Regions from separate parts of the Homo sapiens genome. Here all the other regions are linked to region 1. Evidence: promoter capture Hi-C in human tissues and cell types (Jung and others, 2019). All regions are on one chromosome and are shown on one strand. Each heading gives the region's core, a stretch centred on a gene start or on the middle of the fragment in contact. The rest is flanking DNA. Distances are from core to core; before and after follow the strand shown.

Evidence for each region. Contacts are between HindIII fragments. The study calls those that stand out against the background at their distance.
Region 2: a fragment that was not itself captured here is called in contact with the fragment with the promoter of CRB2 in region 1 in 1 of the 25 tissues and cell types used here (lymphoblastoid cells).
Region 3: a contact is called between a fragment that was not itself captured here and the fragment with the promoter of CRB2 in region 1, in 1 of the 25 tissues and cell types used here (adrenal gland).

What each region holds. Positions count from the first base shown.
Region 1 is chr9:123,353,778-123,358,357 of GRCh38, reverse strand. It overlaps CRB2 (crumbs cell polarity complex component 2), which reads right to left and starts at 2,161. Exons shown (of 13, transcript NM_173689.7): 1 at 2,004-2,161. The coding sequence starts at 2,097. RefSeq lists enhancers at 1-480, 3,861-4,030, 3,699-4,198 and silencers at 4,161-4,210, 4,231-4,340. The HindIII fragment of the contact is 16,000 bases long and covers 1-4,580 here.
Region 2 is chr9:122,837,398-122,841,665 of GRCh38, reverse strand. It overlaps the pseudogene KRT18P67. Among named protein-coding and RNA genes, the nearest start is that of PDCL, 11 kb to the right of the region's middle. The HindIII fragment of the contact is 8,050 bases long and covers 1-4,268 here.
Region 3 is chr9:124,220,605-124,225,038 of GRCh38, reverse strand. No RefSeq gene overlaps it. Among named protein-coding and RNA genes, the nearest start is that of NEK6, 35 kb to the left of the region's middle. The HindIII fragment of the contact is 4,341 bases long and covers 1-3,712 here.

The sequences.
Region 1 (4,580 bases), core at 912-3,411:
GTGGATATGAGAGCCCAACGTGCCCCATTGTACTCCAAGATGCTTGGTCCTCTCCATGGCAACCAGCCGGGCCTTTGTGGCAAATTGGGCCCAGGATGGAGAGGCCCAGCTCAGGGCCTGGCAGGGGTGGGGAGAAAAGCCAGGGGCCCATGGCCTCCAGAAGCCCCCATCCCCTCCAGGATGGAAATTGGTTTTCAAGTGACAAAATCCCCAATCCCTCCCCTCCCGGCAGGCAGTCTAGGGTACCAGCATGCAGAAATGGTCATGCCTGCAGTGTACCCCACCAACTTTTAGGGATCCCCAGGGATGGCGCTCCCAGCACAGAAATGGCAGAGGAAAGGCTGCCCCTGGGCAACCCAGCAGGCCTGATGGGTTGAGTGTACACACCAGTGTCCAGACCCCCCACAGCCTCCATCCACTCTGTGCCTCCAGGTCCCCTGTGAGTGCACACTGAGTGTGAATGCACACATGTCCACATGTGCGTGTTGGGGTGTGCACATTGGTGTGCAGGCACATGCCATGTGTGTAGGTAGGTGCATGTGCTGGTAGATCCACATGTGTCTGTAGCACCTGTCCCTGTGGTGCTGTGTGCCCTTGGGCATGCCACACAGGTGTGCGGAGTGTGGGTGTGTGAGCATCACAGGGCAGGGGACAGAGCACCGATCCACAGACCGGGATCTCACGTGCTTTGTATGCAGAGAACAGAGAGGAGCAGCCACCCCGCCCCCCGCCACCATGCCCCACCCCTCTATGGAGCCCAAGTCGCCTGCCAGCAGAGCCCAGCTCATAAGTCCCCGTCCCTCTCTGAGCCTTGGTTTCCTTCACTGCAAAATGGGGTCCTCATCCTCCCTAGGGCCCCATAGAGAGGATAGGAAATGAAAGCTTTGTGAGTGCGGGAAACATGAGGGTCCCCAGGTGGGACTGGGAGACACTTGGCCCCCACACCCTACAGCCTGTGGAGCTCTGGGGCAGGGAGGGCTCCCCCAGCCTCAGGAGAGCCCAGGCCCTCCTTGGCTCCCTCCCCAGCCTGTGGTGGTGGGGGCAGGGGACTTCCCAGGCCCGGCCCCTGTAACTATAGTAACTAACACCAAGCGTTCCCTTGGACCCCCCAGGAGGAATTCCAGGCTCCGAGAGCTTGGACAAAAGCAAAAAGGGCTTGGCAAATGTGGTCTGGCTTCAGGGAGCCCTTTCAGATTGGCCTTGGAATGCTGGGGAGGGGGCAGCAGGGGACACACACATGTTCCCAAATCCCCAGCCACCCCACAGGGACCCAGAGCATCCCCAGCAGCCCTCAGCACAGGCAGGGCTACCGCACAAATGGAGGGGTGCGGGCAGGCACCCAGCTCCCTGAGTCTCCCTCACGCTTCTCCACTCAGTCCCGAGTTGGGGTCGGCTGTGCACATCCCACACCCCTCATGTTGAGAGCAAAGACCTAGTTCAACCCTGGACAACCTACACCCCACAGCGTGTGCTAGGACACAGCTCACCACACCCAACTCCTCGGACACAACTCACGGCTCACCCCAGACAGCTCATCCACCTCCCAACTCTAACACACCCACAACCTGTGCCCCACAACCCAGCATGCGACACAGAACAAGCTCTGGGGTGAGGCTTATGCCACCTGCAACTCCCCAAACTCAGCCCCTAGAAACCCAGAAGTCCCCCAGCCCTTTACAGGATGCAACACAGCACCTCCCAAAACACGCACCCCATCCCTCACCCGCATCAGCTCCCCCAAATCATGCCCAGCCCCCGATCCCCCAACCCCGAAACTTACAACCCCCCTCAACATGAAACAGCCCCGAGCCTCAGAACACACTCACCTCCGTGGAGCCCCACAGAGTCTGGGGGCCACAGCCGCGCACTCCTGTGCACCCCACAGCTCAGGCCTGCACCCACGCGGACCAGCCCACCCACCACCCCAGCAGCCAAGGCTTGGGGTATCTGTCTTGGGGGACAGACCCTCTCCCAGGCCCCTCCAGACATGGGCCCCAACTCACCAGCCAGGAGGGAAAGGGCAGGGGCCCAGAGCAGCAGTAGCAGGACAGAGGCCAGGGCCTGGGGGTCCGGGGTCCCAGGCCTGGCCAGCGCCATGGCAGCCCGCTCTGCGCTCTGCTCGGCTGCTGTGAGAACGGGAGGGCGGCCTGGCTGGCTCCGCACCCCCCTCGTCCCTCCAACCAGCACTAATGCTGTGGACAGAGGCCCAGCCCCTCCCTCCCCTCCCCGCCACCGCCTCCTCCTCCCACCCAGGCCTCCTGGGCTGCTCCACCTCGTGGACGTCCCTAGACATCAGCCCCAAGTCCTCAAGCCCCCTAGCCTGTGGGGCTGACCTGGTCTTGGCACCCACTGGTTTCTCCCTCCTGACCCTCTGCCCCACTCTCCTCCCACCTCTCAGGTCAGCCTCCTTGGAGAAATTTCTGTCCTTGGAGAGGGGGCTGTTCAGGACTCTCGTCTCACCAGGTGATGCCAGCTACTCCCAAGTCCTTAGTTATCCCCTCTCCTGGATCCCCCTCCCCACCTCTCCAGCCCGGGCCTCTCTCCCAAGCCCAGGCCTTCGAGTCCAGTCGCCTCCCAGACCCTGTCTCTGCTGGGAAGCTGCAGCCCCTCCCACCCAGCTCGTCCCCCCACCTGCTGCTCCCCAGTGCTCCCATCGGAGCCAAGGCACCTCCCATCGGGCAGCCCAACGCCCCCTCCCCACTCCCCCCTCCCCACACTCGGTCAGCCCCTAGCTCCTGGCCATGCCACCTTCTCAGTGTCTCCTGCTGTCCCCACCCCGTCCCACCCGACCACACACAGCTCCTCCCACCATCGGCCTCAGGATCAGCTCCCTGCAGGGCACCTCACCCCTGCACCACGGTGGTCCCTGCCTCCCTTTACCCTCTCCACCCTTCACCAGCCAAACTGAACCTTTCCCAGCTTTCTTCCACTTGACCTTGATCTCTGGCTCTGCTGTTTGCAACTCCAGCGACCTCACTGCAATCCAAAGCAGCCCATTCTACTGAAAGGCAGCTCTAACCAAGCAAGCATTGCTCTCCCCTGCCAGGAAGTCCTTCTTGTTGTCTAACCTTATAGTCTCCTGCTGCACTCGATGTTTGCTTGCTCTCCAGCTGGCCTCTTGTTGGGGTGGACAGGAGGAGCTCTTCAGGGGGACCTGGTTCAGGAAGCCAGGTCATCTCAGAGACACTACAACATAGAACAACATTCCTTTCTTCTACCACCCTCAGCCCCAGTGGGGAGAGAATCCTCTTGCTGAAGGGACTTTCCTGAAATGAGCCACCGGCCCCTGCCAATACATGCCTGTTTGTCCCTATTCAGTAACCGTGGATACAGCCCACGCAGGCCCTGGGCTCTGGGATGTGTCCCTGACACGGGAGGACACAGCCTGGAAAGACAGCAGGAGCCATTGAGGGAGGTCCAGATGAGCTAGAGGGATGGGCAAGGGTCCCCTGCAGTGCAGGGGAGGGAGCAGTGGGCACCACACAGGCCCTGGCCGACCCTCTAGCCCGGGGCAAGTGCCACAGCCCTGGGTCCCCAGGGACCAAAGGAGGGAACCCAAAAAGGCCTGGGTAGACTCCTTATCCACTGCCCCTGCCCCATCCCTGCCCTTGAGGCCTGTTCTCTCCAGGGCAGGGATTGCCCCTTGGTTTCTGGGACACTAACCTCTCTCAGTCCATCTTTAATCCCCTGCCTCTCCAATACAACAGGATCCCTCTCCCCAGGTGGGAGAAGCCCCTCTCCATGCCACAGGAAAAGCAGAGGCCTCACAGCGTAAGAGATCTGGGTTCGAGCCCAGCTCAGCCACTGATTAGCCGGTGACCTCAGCACGTGACTTCCTTCTCTGGGCCTCAGTCTCCTCACCTGTAAAATGGTGGCGTTAGTGAGCCAAGGCGACAGTGCCAGCTCTCTTTATCCAGCTTCTCAGTGATCCCCCAGAGACCCAGGCAATCCCAATGGGGGGCTGGGGGGAGCACGGCAAGTCAACCACCACCCTCTGGTTCTCTGGATGCACAGACACAAACTCCCACACTTTCACAGAGCGGGGAGGTCACCCGGCGCAGGTCCAGTCTCCTCTGCAGCCCGGCCCCCAGCACTGTCCTGCAGCCGCCACACTCCACCTTGTGGCCAGACCTGGAAGTGTCTTGTGAGGTCTGGAGGGTATGGAGGGGGGCTCCCCCGACAGCACCGGGTACAGGAGTCCCACGTGACGGGGAGGAAGCCAGGGAGTCGCTGGACAGCAGGCAGGACGGAGGTCAGACAAGGGCACACCATCTTGACCGCTCCCTGGTCCGGATCTGGAGAAGGCAGTAAGAGTGGGCCAGCTCCTCTGAGATGGTCCCCCAGGTGCATCCACTTCCCCTGTCCTCCCCACCTGGGAAGGGAATCGACATAACCTCAGTTTACCCCCCCCCCACCCACCAGCAGCACTGCAAAGTCAGCATTGGCCCCATTCTATGGATGAGGAAACCGAGGCACAGAGAGGTGAGCAGCCCAGCACCAGTGCCTGGCAGGATTCGAGTTGGGTCTGCCCGACTCCAGCCTTTCCACTGGTGAACCTCCGACTGCAGGTTACTAACTGC
Region 2 (4,268 bases), core at 92-2,591, 520 kb after region 1:
CCCATGCACTCATTTGCATGCATGTGCATGTTCGTGTGTGTGTAAGTTCTATGTAGTTTTCACATGTAGATTTGTGGAACCACCACTACTATCAAGAGCTGTTCCATCTCCTCAGTGATCCCTCATGCTACCCCTTTATATCACATCCATTTTCCTTGCTTATCCCCATTCTCCCATCCCTAAACCCTGGCAACCACTAATCTGTTCTCCATCTTTGTAATTTTGTCATTTTGGGAATGTTATATTACTGGAATTACACCATATGTAACCTCGAGATTGGCTTTTTGTTTTCACTCAGCATAATTCCCTTGAAATTCATCCAAATGGTTGTATGTATTAATAGTTTTTTTCTTTATGTTGCTGGGTAATATGCCATGGTACATCCGTGGTACCATGGTATACTACATGTATACTACACACCATGGTAATGGTGTCTTTAGCTATTAACTCATTGAAGGGCATTTGGAATGTTTCAAATTTTTGGCTGTTACAAATAAAGCTGCTATGAACATTTGTATGCATGTTTCTGTGTGGACATAAGTTTTTATTTCTGAAGTTTTTTTTTTTTCAGTGAATGAATTGGTATACTTTGTCTACCTCTGAAGGAAATTAATAAATAAGACTATAATAAGGTCTTAACTTGGAAATGGACAAATTCCTTAAAAATACAGTTTACCAAACTGGATACAAAATGAAAATAAAAATTGGAATAACTCTTGTATTAATTATCTGTTGGTATAACAAATTACCGGAAAACTTAGGGGCTTACCAAAAAATGTATCACCTCAGTTTCTGTAGGTCAGAAATCTGGATATGACTTAAATAGGTCCTCTGCTTCAGGGTCTCTCACAGGCTGTAATCTAGCTGTTGGCTGGCACTGCAGTCATCTCACAGCCCAGCTGGGGAAGGATCCGCTTCCAAGCTCACTCATGATTATTGGCAGAATTCATTCAGTTCTTTATGCCCTTTGGAATGAGGACATCAGTTTTTTTGCTGGCTGGAGGCTGGAGGCTACTGATAATGGCTTGGATGTTTGTCCCTCCAAATCTCATATTGTAATGTGGCCTCGTGCTGAAGGTGGGGCCTGGTGGAATGTATTGGATCATGGGGGCAGATCCCTCAAGAATGGCTTAGCACCATCCCTGGTTGATGAGTGAGTTCTCACTCAGTTCATGCTAGATCTGATTGTTTAAAAGAGTGTGGTACTTCTGCACCCCACACACACCTTGGTCCTGCTCTTGCCATGTGATACACTGGCTCCCCTTCGCTTTCCACCATGATTGTAAGCCTCTTGAGGCCCTCAACAGAAACTAAGCAGATGTTGGTGCCATGCCTGTACAGCCTGCAGAACTGTGAACCAAATTAAACCTCTTTTCTTTATAAAGTACCCAGACTCCGTTATTTCTTTGTAGAACAACACAAGAACAGACTAATACAGAACATTGGTACTGAGGAGTGTGGCATTGCTATAAAGATACCTGAAAATGTGAAAGTGGCTTTGGAACTGGGTAACAGGCTGAGGTTAGAAGAGTTTGGAGAGCTCAGAAGAAGACAGGAAGACAAGGGAAATTTTGGAACTTCTTAGAGACTTGTTAAGTGGTTGTGACCAAATTGCTAATAGAAATGTGGATAGTGAAGGCCAGACTGATGAGGTCTCAGATGGAAATAAGGAAGTTATTGAAAGCTGGAGTAAAGGTCAACCCCGTTATGCCCTAGAAAAGACTTGGCTGCATGGTGTTCACATCCTAGGGATCTGTAGAAGTTTGAACTTCAGAATGATGACTTAGGGTATCTGGTGGAAGAAATTTCTAAGCAGCAAAGCATTCAAGATGTAGCATGGTTTCTTCTAAAAGCCTATGATGAGATGCGGGAGCAAAGGAATGACTTAAAGTTGGAAGTTATATTTAAAAGGGAAGCAGAGTAGAAAAGTTTGGAAAATTTGCAGACTGTTCCCTGTGGAAGAGAAAGAATCCAAGCAGGCTGCAGAACTACCACTTGCTAGAGAAATGAGCATGATTAAAAGGGAGCCAAGTGCTACTATCCAAGAAAATGGGAGAAAGACCTGTATTGCATTTCAGAGATGTTTGAGGCAGCCCCTCGAGTCACAGCCCAGAGGTCAAGGAGGAATGAATGGTTTCCGTGGCGAGGCCAGGGTGCTGCTGCCCTGCACACTACTGCCCTGCACCACCTCGGTGGGCTGCTCCAGCTCCAGTCTTGGCTCAAAGGGCCCCAGCTATGGTTCCATCTGCCACTTTGGAGAGTGCAAGTTGCCCTAAGCCTTGGTAGCTTCTAAGTGTTAAGTCTGCAGGCACATGGAATCAAGAGTGAACGAAGCTTGGCAGCTTCCCCCTAGGTTTCAGAGGATTTATGGAAAAGCCTAGGTGCCCAGACAGAAACCAGCTGCAGGGCAGAGTCCCCAAAGAGTTACTCACTACGTCAATGCCAAGGGGAAATGTGAGGTTGGAGGCCCCACACAGAGTCCCCACTGGGTCACTGTCTTGTGGAGCTATGGGAAGTGACTGCCATTCTGTAGACCTGAGAATGGTAGAGCTACCTGCAACTTGCAACCTGAGCCTGGAAAAGTCACAGGTGCCCATCTCCAGCTGGTAGGGGAGTAGCCACAGGGGCTGCACCCTGCAAAGCCACAGGGATGAAGCTAGTCAAGGCCTTGAGAGCCCACATCTTGCACCAGTGTGTCCAGGATGGAAGACATGGAGTCAGGGATTTGTGTGTTTGTGTGTGTGTGTGTGTGTGTGTCTGTGTGTCTGTGTGTATTTTTTGACCTCTGAACTTTTTATTGCCCTCCTGCTCCCCAAAGAGTACCCTGCTTCTGCTGGCTTAATGTCTCAGAATTTTGGTGTCATTGGTCTCAGACACCACTTTGCCATCCACAATCTGGGGGGTGGTGGTCTTTTGGATGTTTTGCATGGAATTCCTGCTGTCCAGGGCATCACCAAGATTGAAGTCCTTGCCATCTTCCAGCAGGCGGCAGTAGGTGGCAATCTCAGCCTCCAGCTTGACCTTGATGTTCAGCAGGGCTTCGTACTCCTGGGCCTGGCACTGCCCCTATACCCTGTGCCAGCTCTGACTCCAGGTGCAGCAGGATCCCGTTGAGCTGCTCCATCTGCAGGGCATAGTGGCCCTCCACCTCCCTCAGGCTGTTCTCCAACCTGGCCTTCAGATTTCTCATTGAGTCCAGGTTGATCTCCAAGGACTGGACTGTACATCTCAGCTCCGTGAGTGTCATCTCAGCAGCTCCGACCTCGGCGGACTGCATCATGACCACTGTGGTGCTCTCCTCAATCTGCTGGGACCACTACTTGTCTAGCTCCTTTTGGTTCTTCTGAGGCCGTTCACTGTATTGGGCCCAGATGTCTGCCATGATCTTGGTGAGGTTCAGAGATTTGGGGGCATCTACCTCCACAGTCAACCCAGAGCTGCAACCTGGGCTTGCAGGCCTTTTACTTTCTCTTTGTGGTTCTTCATGAAGAGCAGCTCCTCCTTGAGAGCCTCGATCTCTGTCTCCAGCTGCAGCTGAGTGACACTGGTGTCATCAGTGACCTTGTGGAGCCCATGGATGTCACTCTGCACAGACTGGCGTATGGCCAGCTCTGTCTCATATTTGACTCTAAAGTAACCAGCAGCAAGACGGGCATTGTCGATCTGCAGAATGATGCTGGCATTGTCCACAGTATTTGTGAAGATCTGAGCCCTCAGGCCCCCGATGGTCTTGAAGTAAAGGCCCCAGTCTCTGGCCTGAGGTCCCTTCTTCTCCAGATGCTCTCAGATTTTGCTCTCCAGCCTCTGGTTCTCAGTCTCCAGGCTCCTCACTCTGTCCAGGTAGGGGGCCAGGTGGCCGTTCAGCTTTGCATGGGCTCCTTCTCGTTCTGGATGCTTCCCATTCCTGCCAGACCCCCGGCCATCCTTGTGGCCACAACCCGGACCCCAAGCCACCCCAGAAGCTAGTGAAGCGGGACATGGAGATCCAGAAACCAGAGCTCCCGCCACCAGCTGGCCTCTCTCCTGACCGGCCAGGCACCGTAGCTGGGCGGCTGGACGGAGCCCAGGGACTGGTAGTTGGTGGAGAAGGTGGAGCGAGTGGTGAAGCTCATGCTGTCTGGAGAGGAGAGAGAGAGGACAGGAGTCAGGCTTTGCTGACCGTATGTGTGTTTTAGACAGGGTCTCACTCTGTTGCCCAGAGCAGTGGCGCAATCATGGCTCACTGCAGCCTTGACCTCTGGGGCTAAAGTGATTCTCCCACCTCAGCC
Region 3 (4,434 bases), core at 293-2,792, 870 kb before region 1:
TGCACTGAGAAAGGTAGGCAGGCAGGAGGAAGAAAGGAAAGAAGGGAGAGATACAGAAAGGCAGCGAAGGGGAGAGGGAAAAGACAGGCAGGCATGGGATGGGTTTTTAAAGCTTTAGAAGATTTCTTGGATTTTCAGGAATGTTCAGTTTGTCTCTACCCCATGTCCCTGATGCTGCCACTGGAGGGGAACAGAATAGAGATCTAAGCCCAGTCTGGGCTGCAGGTCCCAGAGGTGAGAGGGATCTGAAGGCCCCAGATCCTGACCCCCCGTAGCCATGATGGCCTTGCTAATTCATTTCATGCACACAGTGGGAACTTTTACAAATTAAAACAAAATGAAAAAAAGCTCACTGGGGTGGCTCATGCCTGTAGTCCTAGCACTTCAGGAGGCCAAGGTGAGCAGATCGCTTGAGACCAGGGGTTTGAGACCAGCCTGGGCAACATGGCGAAACCCCATCTCTACAAAACATACAAAAATTAGCCGGGTGTGGTGGTGCATGCCTGTGGTCCCGGCTACCTGGGAGACTGAGGCAGGAGGATGGGTGGAGTCCGGGAAGTTGAGGCTGCAGTGAGTTGAGATTGCACCACTGCATTCCAGCCTGGGTGACAAGAGCAAGGCCCTGTCTCAAAAATAAATAAATAAATAAAATGTTTTAAGTCGGGATAGATTTGTTAAGCTCAATGATCTGGTGATATGGCACAGTGACCCTTTGACTAACTGACTTAGCCACGGTAGGTGTGGAAAGGGAAAGTGGTCTCTACTCACGGGCTCTGGGGTCCCTTCCTTTTGCACCCACGGTAGCTCTGCTCATTTGCATTAGTACTGTCTGGCTTTGGATTATATTTCTTTTGATAAAGGGTTTGAAAGAAAACTGAGCTGGGCGCGGTAGCTCACACCTGTAATCCCAGCACTTTGAGGGGCCGAGGCGGGCAGATCACCTGAGGTCAGGAGTTTGAGACCAGACCGGCTAACATGGTGAAACCCTGCCTCTACTAAAAATATGAAAAAATTAGCTGGGTGTGGTGGCACGTGCCTATAATCCCAGCTACTCAGGAAGCTGAGGCAGGAGAATCGCTTGAACCCAGGAGGTAGAGGTTGCAGTGAGCTAAGATCACGCCACTGCACTCGAGCCTGGGCCACAGAGTGAGACTCCATCACAAAAAAAAAGAAAAGAAAAGAAAGGAAACTGAGCCTGAGTTCCAGTCCTCCTGGGCCTCCTTGCTGGGTGACCCTGGGCAAGCCTTTCCTTCCCTGAGCTTCAGTTTCCTATCTGGGAAAGGACAGGTTGGATGCTGAGTTCTGTGCATCTCAGTGTCAGGTGTGTTGCACACATAGCTGGGGACCAGCCACCAGTGCCCAGGGAGGGCCACCAGTTCCCCAGGCAGGGGAGGGAGGAACCACTTTCCCCACCCTCTTCCAGAGAAACAGGTCACTGGCTGGGCTTGGGCCTGCAGCCAAGGGGAACTCAGAGACAATAAGCCCAAGTCACCCAGCTGGCAGGTTGTGCAATTTCCACCAGCGCCTGCAAACAAGATGTTGGCCCCTGAACTTTGGACTCTGGGCAGCCTTCTCCCCACCCCTCAGACCTAAACCACCCAGTTTAGGGGACAAGGCTGGGGGTGGGCAGGGTGCTCACTTAGTTCCAAGGACAGCCAGGTGGCTCTGGGCGCCTTGAAGAGAGAGGGTCCCACCAAGGAGGGTGTCAGAGCACCTGGCTGTGGGGAGTCAGTGGAGGAGGCTGGCCATTGGGGAACTGTCAGAGTGTGTGTGTGTGTATGTGTGTGTGTGTCTGTGTCTGCATGTGGACAGGCGGCACCTGTGAGCTGAGTTGCCTCTGCCTATGCATGGAGCCATGGTTACTCTCAGGGGAGTGACATCAGCAGATTGTCGGATGCTGGATGCTGCTTTGTGACTGCAGGGTGGTCCATGCACGAGTCTGTGAGGGTATGATGTGTGTCCTCGTGTGTGAGTCATCCTGGCTATTGATAGGCGTGTGTGTTATCTGTTTGCATGCATGTATGTAATGGGGCCCATGGCAGAGTGCAGATAGGTGAGACTGCACACACGTGTGATTCTGTGGGGGCACGTGCAGGTGTGTGGCTCTGATTGTGTGCCGATGAGTGTGCATGTGGGTGTAAATACACGCATGTGTGCACAATGGTGGGTGGGCATGTTTACCATCAAGGATACGTGTGTGTGTGTGCATGCCTGTGTGAGCCCCATTTGCTGGGCCTGTGGTCTCTGTGGTGGTACTATGGTTTGTAAACACGCATGACCTCTTTACTACACATGAGTGCAGGTAACATGGATGTCCACGCAAGTGCCAGTGTAGGACCCGTGTCCCTGGAGCTTTGGCCCAGCTTGTCACACGCTTCACCCCCTGTGCCCCTACCAACCTGTCAATTACTTTCATGCTTCCAGCAAGTCTCTATTCTGAACCTCAGTTTTCCCATCTGAACTGCATAGGAGGAGGTTGGACTGGATGAGCCCTCAGGCTCCTCCTACCTGTGCAGCGACTTGGATACCGCGTCACAAAGAACATGCAAACATGAGGAAAGTGAGAGCCCAGAACGCCTAGAATTTACCTCAGTCCCTGGCTGAGGGACAGGAAGCTTTGAAGTGACAGATGAAGCTAGGGACCCAGATCCTGGGATAGGGCAGGCCCAGCAAGGGCCTGAGGGACCCACTGTCTTCCGTCTGGTGAGCCACCACCATGGGCTGGAGGGAGGGGACTGACTGATGGGACCTCTGCCGGGGAACCTGGAAGGGCAGATGGGAGTGGGGAGGCCAAGGTGGGAGGACATCTGTGAGCAGCCTCCAAAAGGAATCCCAGAGACACTAGGTGGGAGGCAGTACCACCCCTCTACTCACAGAAAGGAGTCTGTCCCCACTCCTTTGTTCCTTAAGGAGTGGAACCCTGGGGCAGCTGTCTTGACACAGAACGAGCCTTCATTCCCCTTAGGGCTGGTTCCAATATTTGAGGCTCCAGCCTGATTTTCAACAGATGCTGAAGGGGAAGGAATGGATACCCTGCTGAATGCCTCCCCTGTACTAGGCACTTTGCTAGTGTGCCAGGAAGGGCTTCTTTGCCCCCTTCACTACTTTCTTCTCTCCCCTGGTTCTCGACAGCTCCACCCACCCTTTGTGCAATAAGTCTTCAGGAAGGTGAAGTAGAGAGACAGCAGAGTAGCGCAATGCTACTCCACCTATGTCACAAGAGACAGTCAGTGGTAGCATGAGAAAGCTTTGCTGTCTTGTAGTAAGTTTACTGCAAAGAGCTAGAAGGAGCTAGAGCCTCTTCCATTAGTCCCGCCTGTGACATGCCCTCAGGGGTCTGATGCTGCCCCTCTAGGATAAAAACTCTGTAAGTGGAGAAGAGAGAGACAATTCTTGGGCCAAAGATGCCCGCTGTAAAATTCAAGGCCAGTCAGAAAAACAGAAACCACTCTAGGTATTTCCAACAGAGGAAATTTAATATAGGGAATTGGTTACCTGGAAGAGGGAAGAGCTGAAAAGCCAAACAGCAAATGGTGAGGCAAGTGCTTGTTCCACAATGGCAAAAGGTGCTACCACTTAGGGGTGGAGAGACAAAAGGAAGAGGCAGTGATACTGCCCAGGAGTAACTTGAATCATCAGAGCCACCTGGAGACTTGGAACTGCAGATGACCGGGTGGTTCTAGAGCAGCCAAAGACACAGAAGAGAGCAGCCTGTGCTGGGGAAAGGCCACTCCCACTCCCTCCCTAAGCAGAGGGAGGGAGAAATACCCAGATTGTCCCCTCCTCCCATGCTCCAATCTCCTGCCAGTGCTTCCCCTTGGCCCAACCTAACAGGAAGCCAGTTGGCAAAGGAAACTGGGAAAAGCAGTTTGCAGGAGAGGGGCAAGCACACAGGACTGCCCAGCACACTTGCCCACGATGCACACTGCAGGGGCTGAGAACGTGTTGGGAAAAGCAAAGAAATACTTGGCAGTGTCCCCAGGACTCTGGGGATATGATTAACTGTTGATCAGAGTTTCATGGACTGAACACACATACGCTTCCAGGGAACACACTGAACACACATACGCTTCCAGTGTGACCTGCTCCGTGAGTGTGGCTTCAAATTGTCTCCACCACAGGCCAACAAATTTAGGACAAGCCTCCCTCCCCATGCTGCAGTGGAGGAAACGGAAGCTTTAGGAAGAGAAGTGCCTTCTACAAGCTCCACGGCTGGAAAATGGGCAAAGTCAGGACTCAAACCCTGGTGACTCCAGGGCCCCAGGCCTGGGAAAAAGGTGAGAAGTCAGGTGTCAGGTGTTACCCTTGGGAGCAGATGCTGGTTATTGATCTGAGTTGGAGGCCCTGGGTAAAATTCTGAGAAGGAGAGCGGCGTTGAGCTTGAGTGAGGCTGACTGGGGAGAGAGCTGTTGATGGTGAAATGGGAAGGGGGCA